Regions from separate parts of the Homo sapiens genome. Here region 1 is linked to region 2. Evidence: promoter capture Hi-C in 16 types of primary human blood cells and fetal thymus (Javierre and others, 2016). All regions are on one chromosome and are shown on one strand. Each heading gives the region's core, a stretch centred on a gene start or on the middle of the fragment in contact. The rest is flanking DNA. Distances are from core to core; before and after follow the strand shown.

Region 1 (5,906 bases), core at 3,186-5,685, 540 kb after region 2:
CTTGACACGCCTTTTTTTCTGGTTGGGGAAAATGGTCTTTAGGATATTAATTCCACCGTGCCTTCCTTAATGAAAAGTGATAATGAGTAAAGGATTTTCACTTTGCGTGTAGACAGTATGGAGTTAATAGTCATGAATTTTGTTGAAAGGCCTTGATCTTGAATTACTTTGGGCAGAGCTGCTGAGTCTGTTTGAGATTGAAACTTAAACTTGTAGTTGGTAGGCCTTAGATTTATTTCTTTTGCAAAGAAAAATGTGTTTCAAAGATGCAAAGAAATATAAATTGTCTTAAATTGTACTTGAGAATAATTGGACTGAGCTCCTTGATGTCTTATAAATTATATTTTATTTTTAGTGTTTTATAAAGGCCATGTGATTATTTGTTGCATAGCACTGAACAGCTTTAACTTATAGTTTAATTAAAAATGCAGTCAGTTTATTGTCGGTATATACTAACAGTTTAATATTGCCGTCTTTAACTTACTGTCACCTTATACAATGATTCTTTTTTCTGGGAGAAAGCTCTTTATCCATGTAAGTAAAATTCAGCAGTAGAAATAAGAATATAAGTGTTAAAAAGACATCCGATGTTGCTTTCTTTTTTGACTTTAACCAGATTTCCCAAATGGTAACATTTTACTATATTTGCTTATTCCCTGCAATATATGGTTTTTAAAATCATTTGAATGTAAGTTGAAGACATGATGCCACCCTTATCCTTAAATATCTCTTTGTGTATTTCCGAAAAACCAGGGCATTTGCTGTCTTCTTTTTTTTTTTTTTTTTTGAGACGGAGTCTCACTCTGTCACCCAGGCTGGAGTGCAGTGGCACAATCTCGGCTCATTGCAACCTCCGCCTCCTGGGTTCAAGGCATTCTCCTGCCTCAGCCTCCCGAGTAGCTGAGATTACAGGCGCCCACCACCACACCTGGCTAATTTTTTTTTTTTTTTGAGATGGAGTTTCACTTTTGTTGCCCAGGCTGGAGTTCAGTGGTGCGATCTTGGCTCACTGCAACCTCCACCTCCCGGGCTCAAGCCATTCTCCTGCCTCAGCCTCCCGAGTAGCTGGGATTACAGGCGCTTGCCACCATGCCCGGCTACTAATTTTTGTATTTTTAGTAGAGACGGAGTTTCACCGTGTTGGCCAGGCTATTCTTGAACTCCTGACCTTATGTGATCCACCTGCCTTGGCCTCCCAAAATGCTAGGATTACAGGTGTGAGCCACTGTGCCTGGCTGCATTTGCTTTCATGAATAAAATATACTAACCTAACTCAGAAATTAACATTGATTTGTTATTATACTATTACCTGATGTGTAGAATTTGTTTGAAATTTGCCAGTTGTTCCAGTTACGCCTTTTATAGCAAAAGAAAATCTCAGATTATCCAATTCATTATTTCCATGTCTTACTTTGGAACAGTTCTTTAGTCTCTGTGTTTTATGACATTGATATTTTTAAAGAGTACAAATTAGTTACTTATAGAGTCCCCTCAGTTTGGGTTTGGCTGATGTTTCTTCATGATTAGATTCAGGTTATGCATTTTTTGGGGGGCAGAAATAATACAGAAATTATGTGTTATTAGGCAACATAAGATGTGTTTATTTGACCACATACATGCCTTTTGACTCAGCAGTCCCAAATCTCAGAATTTACCCAGAAGATGCACTTCCCACAGTATGAAAATACACATGTACAAGGTTGCAGCATTTCTTAATTACAAAAATTAACAAGCAGTCTACGTGGTAGGAATATCCAATGGAGCATTATGCACCTGTGAAAAAGACTGAGGGCATGATTAACTGATATGGAGTGCTTTCTTGGATATGTTGTTCACTTGTCTTGGTTTGTCTTGCTTTCAAACAAGCTTGTCCAACACTCAGCCTGCGAGTGGCATGCGGCTCAGGACACCTTTGAATGTGGCCCAAGACAAATTCATAAAATTTCTTAAAACATGAGATTTTTTTTTTGCAATTTTTTTTTTAACCTCGTCAGCTATCGTTAGTTTAGCGTATTTTATGTGTGGCCCAAGACAGTTCTTCCAGTGTGGCTCAGGGAAATCGAAAGATTGGACACCCCTGCCCTAAAGGAATACCTGAGGCTGGGTAATTTATAAAGAAAAGAGGTTTTGTTGGCTTAGAGTTTTTGCAGGCTGTACAAGAAGCACAGTACTAGCATCTGCTTCTGGTGAGGGTGTAAGGAAGCTTCCATTCATGACAGAAGATGAAGGGGAGTGGCATGTGCAGAGATCACATGGTGAGAGGAAGCAAGCCAGTGGGGGAGGCGCCAGGCTCTTTTTAACAACCTGCTGTGGTGGAACTAATAAGTAAGAGCTCACTCACACCCCAGTCCCAGGGAGGGCATTAATCTATTCATGAGGGATTCATCCCCATGACCCAAACACCTCCCATTAAGCCCCACCTCCAACTTTGGGGATCAGATTTCAATATGAGATTTGGAGGAATCGCACAAACCAAACTTACAGTCAGTGAAAAAAAAGTGCAAAAGTATCTACTACTGTGTGTATACTACCTTTTGTGTAAGAAAGAAGGAGAAATAAGAAAATACGTATGTATTTGTTCATTGGGGCAAAAACAAAACACAAAGATAAATTGGAGGTTGATAAGATTGATTTCCTAGAGGATGGGTAAAAAGGTATATGGTGGAAAGGATAGAGGGAATGGGGGCAGGGACCCTTCTGAGGATACCTTTCTGACTTTTGAAACCATGTTAATGTTTCACATACTGAGTATATAAGCAGCAAACACACCAACCAAATCAACTGATGACAAATAAAAACACCTTAACAGGGAGTACAAATAGAAACAAATGAACTGAACCGTATTTCAAATGAGTAACTTAACTACACTGAAGGAGTGAAAAACAACTAATTTAGGTAACTTTTGATCCTAGTATTTGAACTCTGTCCTCAGGATAAAGACAAAAAGATTGAAAGAAACATTGAACTCTAGTTAATAGAGTTAACTAGAATTTTTGGTTTTTGTTGTTGTCATAAAGGCATGGGTTTGCAATTTTGAAGCAATTGTCTATACTGTTATAAGCAAATAAGTAAATATATTGTGGAAAATGGGAGCCAGTTTCTCACTGTTGGAGAAGGGAGTTACAAAGGTGAAAAATGTGAAGGTTAAAATGAACTCTGATGTTTGATTGGAATTGCAGATAGTGGCATAAATTCATAGTTTTAGAAGTATGTAGATATAGGCCGGGTGTGGTGGCTGACACCTGTAATCCCAGCACTTTGGGAGGCTGAGGCGGGTGTATCACGAGGTCAGCAGATCGAGACCATCCTGGCTAACACAGTGAAACCCCCCTCTTTACTAAAAATACAAAAAAAAAAAAAAAATTAGCCGGGTGTGGTGGCGGGTGCCTATAGTCCTAGCTACTCAGAAGGCTGAGGCAGGAGAATGGTGTGAACCTGGGAGGTGGAGGTTGCAGTGAGCCAAGTCGCGCCACTGCAGTCCAGCTTGGGTGACAGAGCAAGACTCTGTCTCTAAAAAAAATAATAAAAATAAAAAATGAATACAAAAAATTAGCCGGGCGTGGTCGCGGGTGCCTATAGTCCCAGCTACTTGGGAGGCTGAGGCAGGAGAATGGCGTGAACCTGGGAGGCGGAGCTTGCAGTGAGCCGAGATCGCGCCACTGCACTCCAGCCTGGGCAACAGAGCGAGACTCTATCTCAAAAACAAGAAACAAAAAAAGAAGTATGTAGATATAGAAATAGATCTCATTATGGATACACATGCGTACATCTGTACATCTTTTTCCACTTCTGTCTGCTAAGATGGCCAGGAAGCAGTGATACCCCTTTAGCAATGAGATCACCTAGCACTAGATCTTGGTTTCTAAATACCATTAATACTATTCTCTACTGGAAGGAACCTTAGAGAAATGGAGGATTCCAGAATAGGGGAAGGAAAAAATACAAAATATGCTTGGAGCATCTTGTAGTCTCATAAGGGAGTGCTCAAAAAGGTAAAATGATGGGGATATTTGAAAGAGACACAGGAGCCAGCCTGGCAAAACTCCCATTGACTGACTATAGGGCAATTTAATCATTGAAATAAATAAGGCAGTACTTGTTTATTACCCATAAATAGAGTAAGGATCTATGATAAATAAATGATCTAGAAGTCCTTAATGTAGAATTCTGACTAATGAATGAACATAAAGGAAAAGGTGGAATTAGTAAGTTGCCTTTTGGCAATTATAACAGTTGATTTAAGTAAGAACCATAAATGGATCTTAAAACTAAGTGGGTAAAAATGGATGTTAAAACTAGTATGTGAAAGTTTGAGAGTAGTAGATGTTAATATAGTCTCAAAGTATGTTCTCATAAGTTATTGTTAATTTTACAGGGGGAAAATAACAACTTTACAGGGGGAAATCTGACACCAACTTGCCCATGTGATGAAAGTCAACATCTTTGATGTTACTCTACATAATAATAATGAGCAGAGTTTGTTTTACTTTGTTATGCTAATGAGATCTTGTCTTTATAATTTGTTCAGCGAGGCATTGAATGAAATTAAGCCTAAAGGAACCAAGCAGAGCATAAAGGGGACCAGGTTTTTTTCTGTTTAAAAAATATATCTTCTTAATTTTGTAGCCAGATGTCTTGGGAGGGAAAGGTTGATAAATTTAGGTTAGGCCAGTAAGGTTTTGTCCATAAACTCTAATCTTTATTTAGCATAATAACTTCCTCCCTTTGCACCAAGTGTGTCTTTTGCTGTACAACTGTTTTTGTTTTTTTCTGTGTTCTGTGGTGGTTTTTGGAAAGTAGATTTTTTTTTTTCTACTGGAATTTATCTTAAAAATTATTTATATTCTTTTAAAAATTTTAAAGACAGGGTCTTGCTCTGGTGCCCAGGTCAGGCTGTAGTGTAGTGGTGTGATGACAGGTCACTGCACCCTCGGAACTCCTGGGCTGAAATGATCTTCCTGCCTCTGCCTGCCAAAGCGCGGGCACTACAGGTGTGAGCCACTGTACCTAAGTTTTTGATTTTTTGTAGCGACGAGGTCTCGCTATGTTGCCCAGGCTGGTCTTGAACTTCTGGCCTCAAGTGATCCTCCTGTCTTGGCCTCCCAAAGCGCTGGGATTACAGGTGTGAGCCATCTGTCCCTGTATAAAATGATTTATATTTTTAAACATACATAATTAGGGAATCAGAAAATAGTGTCTTATTCCCAGTTACAGAAAATGAGAATTAAGCACTTTTGTTAACCCTGTTTCTACCCACTCCTTTCGTACATTTTTTGTCCTTATTTACAACAACCAAAATTGTGTCAGATTCAGTATTTTTAAAAGATTTCAAAAATCTTCTGCATTCTGTTTTGTTATTACAATTACAATAGTTAATACCCATTGGCATTAATCCGTTTGTCATTAAGGGTTATTGCTTTTATTTGCCATTTCTATCATTCTACCTGGTTTTAGTGTTTACAAACAATCCTCATGAACAGCTAGTTTTAATTAATTATTTTTAAAATTGTCTTTATTTAGAGACAGGGTCTTGCTCTGTTGTCCAAGCGGGAGTGCAGTGGCATGATCATAGCTTACTGCAACATTGAAACTCCTAGGCTTTAGTAACCCTCCTCCTGTCTTAGCCCTCTGAGTAGCTAGGACTACAGGCATATGCCACCATGCCCGTCTAACTTTTTTATTTTTATTTTTTAGAGATGGGGTCTCATTTTGTTGCCCAAGCTAGTCTTAAACTCCTGGCCTCAAGCAATCCTCCCACCTTGGCCTCCCACAGGGCTGGTATTATAGGCGTGAACCACTGTGCCTGGCCTTTTTATTTTTAAATTGACAGATAAAATTGTATGTATTTATTATGTACAACAGGGTGTTTTGAAGTATATATACATTGTGGAATGACTAAATATAGC
Region 2 (6,148 bases), core at 2,479-4,978:
AAACCCCCACACCCACCACCATCATCATCATCACCATGCCACCACCTCCAATAAATCCATGTCATCATGTCCCTCATTCGGCCTTGCCTGTAAATGTGGGATTAAATTCATTCATGTATAAGCGTTTTTAGAACTTCCTATTGCTGTACTCTCCTGCCACCAGGTTTTGCATTTTCCAACTTAGCCTGTTATAGGGAATGTTCAATTAGTATCATTTAATTTGTAAAGACTGAACTTCAGGCAGTGGGGTGAGGAGGACTTTTTAAAGTGGTCACAGGGAGACTTTCATAAGGTTCCTAATCTCACCCAGAAGTGCTACTGGTCTGCCAGCCCCACCTCAGTGCCTGGCTCCTAAGAGCACAATGAAAATCCAAGTGCACGAATTCAGTTTCTACACATCATTTTGTAATCAAAGTCTTCATTTGGGTACCCTACCTCCCAGCATGAGGACTAGGATAAGGCAAGTGAGAAATTCACCTTGGGAACAGAATTTAAGAGGGCTCCAAGAAGATCAAAAGCAAGATAACACTTTAATGCAACAGTTTAAAATCAAAATTGAGGCAAAAACCCATTACGAACAAGACATCAAATTTTTAATAAGGCAGGATCACTATTATTGACTTTTTTCTTTTAGCTCAGCCTCCAGTATGGCTCAGCTTGGCACTTCCTTTGGCTCTCACTTCCTTCAATTCTGATGAAACACACTGAGAATGCACATAATGGAACATGCAAAGGAGGCACATTTGCGCTGATTGCATCACTCTGTGTGGGGAGCTCTCTGGGACAACTCCCACGGCCCAGGCCAGGGCTGCAGCCATTCAAGAACAGAAAGGGACCCCAGGAGAATCTCACTTGATACTGCCCCTCAGGATGAGCCCTGGAGCTTGGGTTCAGTTCCCAAAGGCCCAGAAAGAGGCTCTGATTCTGGCACAGCATTGCTGTTCTCTGTTAGAACCATTACTGTTCTGCACATAGAAATGGCAAAGCCCTATACAGTGTGTTCACCCATTCCACCCCGAGTACTGAAGATGAGATCTCAGCCATGAAACAGTGAAATACTTAACTTCCTGCTGCCCTAAACCTTCCTGTCATGATAAAAGCCATAGACAAACATTATTGATTGTTTTCTATCACTCAAAGAGCAAATGCAAGAAGGGGGAATAAGGGAGGGATTTCTCCTTATTGAGCTGAGGGAACATGATAAACTGTTACAGGGAAGGCTCTATGTCCTGAAAGACTTATAGTTATTCCTGAGAATACCCCACCTATTATCTCTCAAGGGGAGCTGTGGTGGGGTGGGGTGGGGAACATTTCATCAGTGCTGTCAGTCAGAAATGGCTGCCTCGGGGTAACTCAGCTCTCCTCTGCTATGTAGCCAGGGAAAGAATGCCAAAGAAGGAATGCTCCTTAATTTAAGTGAATTGGAGGATATTTTTGTAATGAAAATTAATCCTTTCTGAAAATAAATGATGGCAGGGGGCCCACTCCTGAACCAAGTACCTGTACTGTATAACAGCTGTGGCCAGACCAAAAACTGTAAGCCTCCTGGTGTTGCAAAGGCAGGGTTGATCTCAGGCATCCCATAGGTGATATTCCTCAGCTCCTGGTGCCTCAGCAGCATTGCCTCCCACCCACAGTCCCAATATCCATCCTGTGTCATCTCCACTGGCCTTTGGTAAGAAACTAGAGACCAAATTTAGTAATGATCTCTCACAATTATTTTTTCATTTTATTAGATTATTGATTAATAAGAATTTTAAGGTATCTCTTAATAGGCATTTGTAATAGGCAGTAGGTAGATATTCTGTGGCTGCAGATACTGTGACACATACCTGTGGGGGTAACTTCAGCCCCTGGGGATAGTCACAAGCCAGTTAAACAGAAAAACTCAAAGACCTGACTAACTTGCTGACTTCCGCAGTGTCCTTGCGTGGGAGATGGAGAGAAATTGGAAACACTCTCAGAGGACAAGGTTTGCTTAGTATATGAAGCCTTTGCCCTTGATATTTCCTCTGTTTGGAATATTTTCCCCCATATCTGCCTCAAATTTCTCTTCTATAGTAGGCAGAATAATGCTCCCCTCCCCCAATAGGTCCACATACTAATCCCTAGAACTGTGAATATGTTAGGTTTCATGGCAAGAAGAATTAAGGTTGCAGATGGAATTAAAGGGCTAATCAGCTGATCTTTGAGTTGGGATTATCCAGGTGGGCCCAATATAATCACAACGATCCTTATAAGTGGAAGAAGGAAGTAGAAGAGAGATAATCAGAGAGACAGCGATGTTGGAAGGATTCAAACTGACATTAATGGCCTTGAAGAGGAAGGAATGGGGACGAAAGCCAAGGAATGTGGGCAGCCTCTAGAAGCTGAAAAAGACAAGGAAATAGAATCTCTCCTACAGTCTCTAGAAAGAATGAAGCCCCACTAACACCTCTCTGTCAGCCCTGGAAGACTCATTTTGGACTTCTCACCTCAAGAATTGTAAGAAAATAAATTTGTGTGGTTTTAAGCCATCAGATTGGTGGTAATTTATTACAACAGTAGTAGGAAACAAATACACTTCTTTAGCAGTTGATCTCAGCTCCAATGTCATCTTCCTAATAAGACTTTCCTTGACAGCCCTTGCCTGCTAAAGTATCTCCCCAACCACCAGGCGTTTTCTATAACGCACTTTTTGTTTGCTTCTGATTATTGAAAATTATTGTATTTCCATGTCATTGCTCTTCCCTCTCATAAGAATGTAAGTTATAGAAAGGACTTTGTTGCTCTTATTCACCTATGTATCTCCATTGCTTAGGACATGGGAACATAGTAGACATTCAATAAATATTTGTTGTGTGAATGAGTCGTAAGCTAATGAGGACCATAAAACTCATGCCACTGCTAAATCACAATTAGAGGGCAGCTGTTAGAAGAGTCCCAAACCCAGTAAGTCCTGTATTGCAAGGAACTGCCCAATAGAAAACAGGAATAAAAACAATTAGCAAGAATAATATGAAATCAGTTGCTTAATTCCAGGCAGTGGAGGCAGAAATCTTGAATAGTAAATACTCTCCGTGAACAAGTGCAGACAAGAGTCCCGTGATTGCCAATAAGTAATCAGTTTGGAAAGACCAGAGAGGGGTCAAATATAGGTAAACTGAGTTAATCACATAAACTGCTCAATCATCACAATTATTAAAAGATCACACACAAAAATACATTAACAGGAGAAAAATAGTAAAACAGGACAAAACAGTAAAATTACTTTCTTTTACTACTGATGGGTCAATTTTCTACTGGAAATTCTGAAAAGTATCAGGTTCAGCTAAAGACTGCAGTGTTGATCATCTCTCCAGTTTTCCTAGTGTGAAATGAAATAAGCAGACCTGGTACTTAAAAAGACACTTTAAGAAAGGTCTGGCCCCAGAGAGGCAGGATCCGCCTAGCCCAGTGAGTGAGGCCGTCCTGACACCTCGTCAATGCCCTTGTGTCAACATTCTAGAAAACGGACTCCTGGCTCATTGCTCCGCCTAGAGCCGCGCCACCTCCAAAGGGTAGCACCGGCCACCCGCTCCGCAAAGTCCACTCTCAGCCGCGCAAAACTAGAAGGTAGTTGTCCCGAAGGGGCCTGAGCGCTCACTCAGTCAGCCAATGGCCACGGAGCTAGGGCGGGACCTGAGGGTATCCTGCCAATGGGAGTATGGCAGGGCTGGAGGGAGTGCCTGGGTCTCAGGGCTGCTGTGGAGTTCGCACCTCCAGCTCGGGCCGATGTGGAAGCTTTGGAGAGCTGAAGAGGGCGCGGCGGCGCTCGGCGGCGCGCTCTTCCTGCTGCTCTTCGCGCTAGGGGTCCGCCAGCTGCTGAAGCAGAGGCGGCCGATGGGCTTCCCCCCGGGGCCGCCGGGGCTGCCATTTATCGGCAACATCTATTCCCTGGCAGCCTCATCCGAGCTTCCCCATGTCTACATGAGAAAGCAGAGCCAGGTGTACGGAGAGGTACAGCCCCGACGGGCCCCGGGCAGGGAGGGCCGCCAGGCTGGCCCGGGCTGGCCAGGGCCTTCCTGGTTGGACTTATGGCCGCCCCTGGGCCGACTAGTCGGGACCTCTCCGTGTGCCGGCTGCCCTTTGAGGGACACCCGCTTCCCGGGTCTGGAAGGGAGAAGTCCTCGACGCCGTGCCCCCTTGCAGGGGGAGCCCCGCCCCTGCCGGTGACCCACTCCGGGCCGAGGCTCCGAGGCGATCCAGTCCTGATTTTCCCGCTACCGCTCGAGCTCTTGCTCCTGCGCCTGCGCCGTTTGGCTCGCCAGCCGCGCCGCCACTTCAGGTCCAGGGTGGACGCATGCCCTCAGGTGCGGGCGTCTTGCGAGTCGGCCTCGCAGCTCTGTGGAAGCTGCACGCGGCTTGTCGGAAAATCAAGGCGTTCTGAGTTCTAGATGGTTAATAGCAGGTTCTTCGGTGTCTGCAGTCGACGAACGACTGGTGTAGGCGTTTGCTGTGAGAATGGAGAATGCAGGGGAACGCCCCTGACTGAGAAGCGGGCCCTGGGAAACGATTGTGAACGCGTGAATGAATTGATGACTAAAATCCGCTGCGGGGGTCCTACAGCGCAGATGGTAATGCCGTTCTGACTGGCTGGGAACGGCACCTTAGCAGATACTTAAAAGGCGCCTTCTGTGTGCCACTGTCACTGCCAACTTGGTGACTCATTTAAAACTCATAACCAGCCGGTGAGGTCGGTACTTCGCTCCTCCTCATTCTGCGGAGGGGAAAGCAGCACGGAAATGCCCTGTGACTGGCAGCGGAAAAGGCGACCACCGCTTGTGTGTGGGTGTCCCGACGTCCGGAGGGGGCAGGAGTTTCCACGGGTCCTGGGACAGAGCTCACCTGTTTTGTTTTGAATTACACTTATTTATATGCAACTACAGGCCTGACGCTAGCGGTGAAGAAGGCAGATACAGCCTTTTAAGGAGTTGGCAGATGAGTGGGAGAGAGAAAACTAATCTCATTATCGGCCACAGGCTGTGGTCAGTGTTTTGAAGGAAAAGTACAGGGATGTTTGGCAACTGTGGTATTTCAGGTTTGACCTTAAATCCTTACTTAAACCAATTTTTACAAGGATTGGTCTAGGTGCCCGGGCGCGGTGGCTCACGCCTATAATCCCAGCACTTTAGGAGGCCGAGGCGGGCGGATCACGAAATCAGGAGATCGAGACCGTCGTGGCTAACACGGTGAAACCCCATCTCTACTAAAAGAATACAAAAAATTAGCCGGGCGTGGTGGCGGGCACCTGTAGTCCCAGCTATTCGGGAGGCTGAGGCAGGAGAATGGCGTGAACCCGGGAGGCGGAGCTTTCAGTGAGCCGAGATCGCGCCACTGCACTCCAGCCTGGGCAACAGAGCCAGACTCCGTCTCAAAAAAAAAAAAAAAAAAAAAAAAAAAGAATTGGTCTAGGTTTCTAGAATAGAAAGTCACTAATGGTTTACGTTCCTTTCATGGTTCACGAATAGTTTACGTTGTTAAAGGGAAGCTGGACGAGATAATAAAGGTATGTATAATTCTTAGATCTTATTTTCCAACCTGCAATTCTCCCAGAATTGAGTTTATTCCCATGATTTTCATGTAATATATTTCATCTCTTTGGTATCTTGGTACACAGCATCATAATATTCTAGAGAAATAAAATGTGAAAGCATAAGACTAGAGGTCAGGTCTTCTGCCAGACAAAACTTGACCTCTATTCTGAGTCTTTTTTTTTTCTCGGTAGTGAGAATAACAACAGAAAACAGAAAAGTGCTACTCAAGTGTTCTTGGTTATTGTGTATGTTATTAGTTTCTTTCTTTTTTTATTTGAGACGAGTCTTGCTCTGTCACCCAGGCTGGAGTGCAGTGACGCCATCTCGGCTCACTGAAAGCTCCGCCTCCCGAGTTCACGCCATTCTCCTGCCTCAGCCTCCCGAGTAGCTGGGACCACAGGTGCTCGCCACCACGCCCGGCTAATTTTTTGTAATTTTTAGTAGAGATGGGCATTCACTCGGTTAGGCAGGATGGTCTCGATCTCCTGACCTCGTGATCTGCCCGCCTCGGCCTCCCAAAGTGCTGGGATTACAGGTGTGAGCCACTGCGCCCGGCCTATGTTATTAGTTTCTATACACAGAACACATTTGTT

Evidence for each region. The method cuts DNA at HindIII sites, captures the fragments that hold promoters and counts their contacts. A CHiCAGO score of 5 or more calls a contact.
Region 1: a contact is called between a fragment that was not itself captured here and the fragment with the promoter of CYP2R1 in region 2, in 1 of 17 cell types (fetal thymus). The highest score is 5.8, in fetal thymus.

The regions. Positions count from the first base shown.
Region 1 is chr11:14,346,776-14,352,681 of GRCh38, reverse strand. The region is part of intron 1 of RRAS2 (RAS related 2); the gene reads left to right. Among named protein-coding and RNA genes, the nearest start is that of RRAS2, 9.5 kb to the left of the region's middle. RefSeq lists an enhancer at 1-366. The HindIII fragment of the contact is 4,460 bases long and covers 2,206-5,906 here.
Region 2 is chr11:14,889,811-14,895,958 of GRCh38, reverse strand. It overlaps CYP2R1 (cytochrome P450 family 2 subfamily R member 1), which reads left to right and starts at 3,728. Exons shown (of 5, transcript NM_024514.5): 1 at 3,728-3,978. The coding sequence starts at 3,754. It also overlaps a transcript of PDE3B not described here. RefSeq lists a silencer at 3,981-4,220. The HindIII fragment of the contact is 6,013 bases long and covers 1-3,764 here.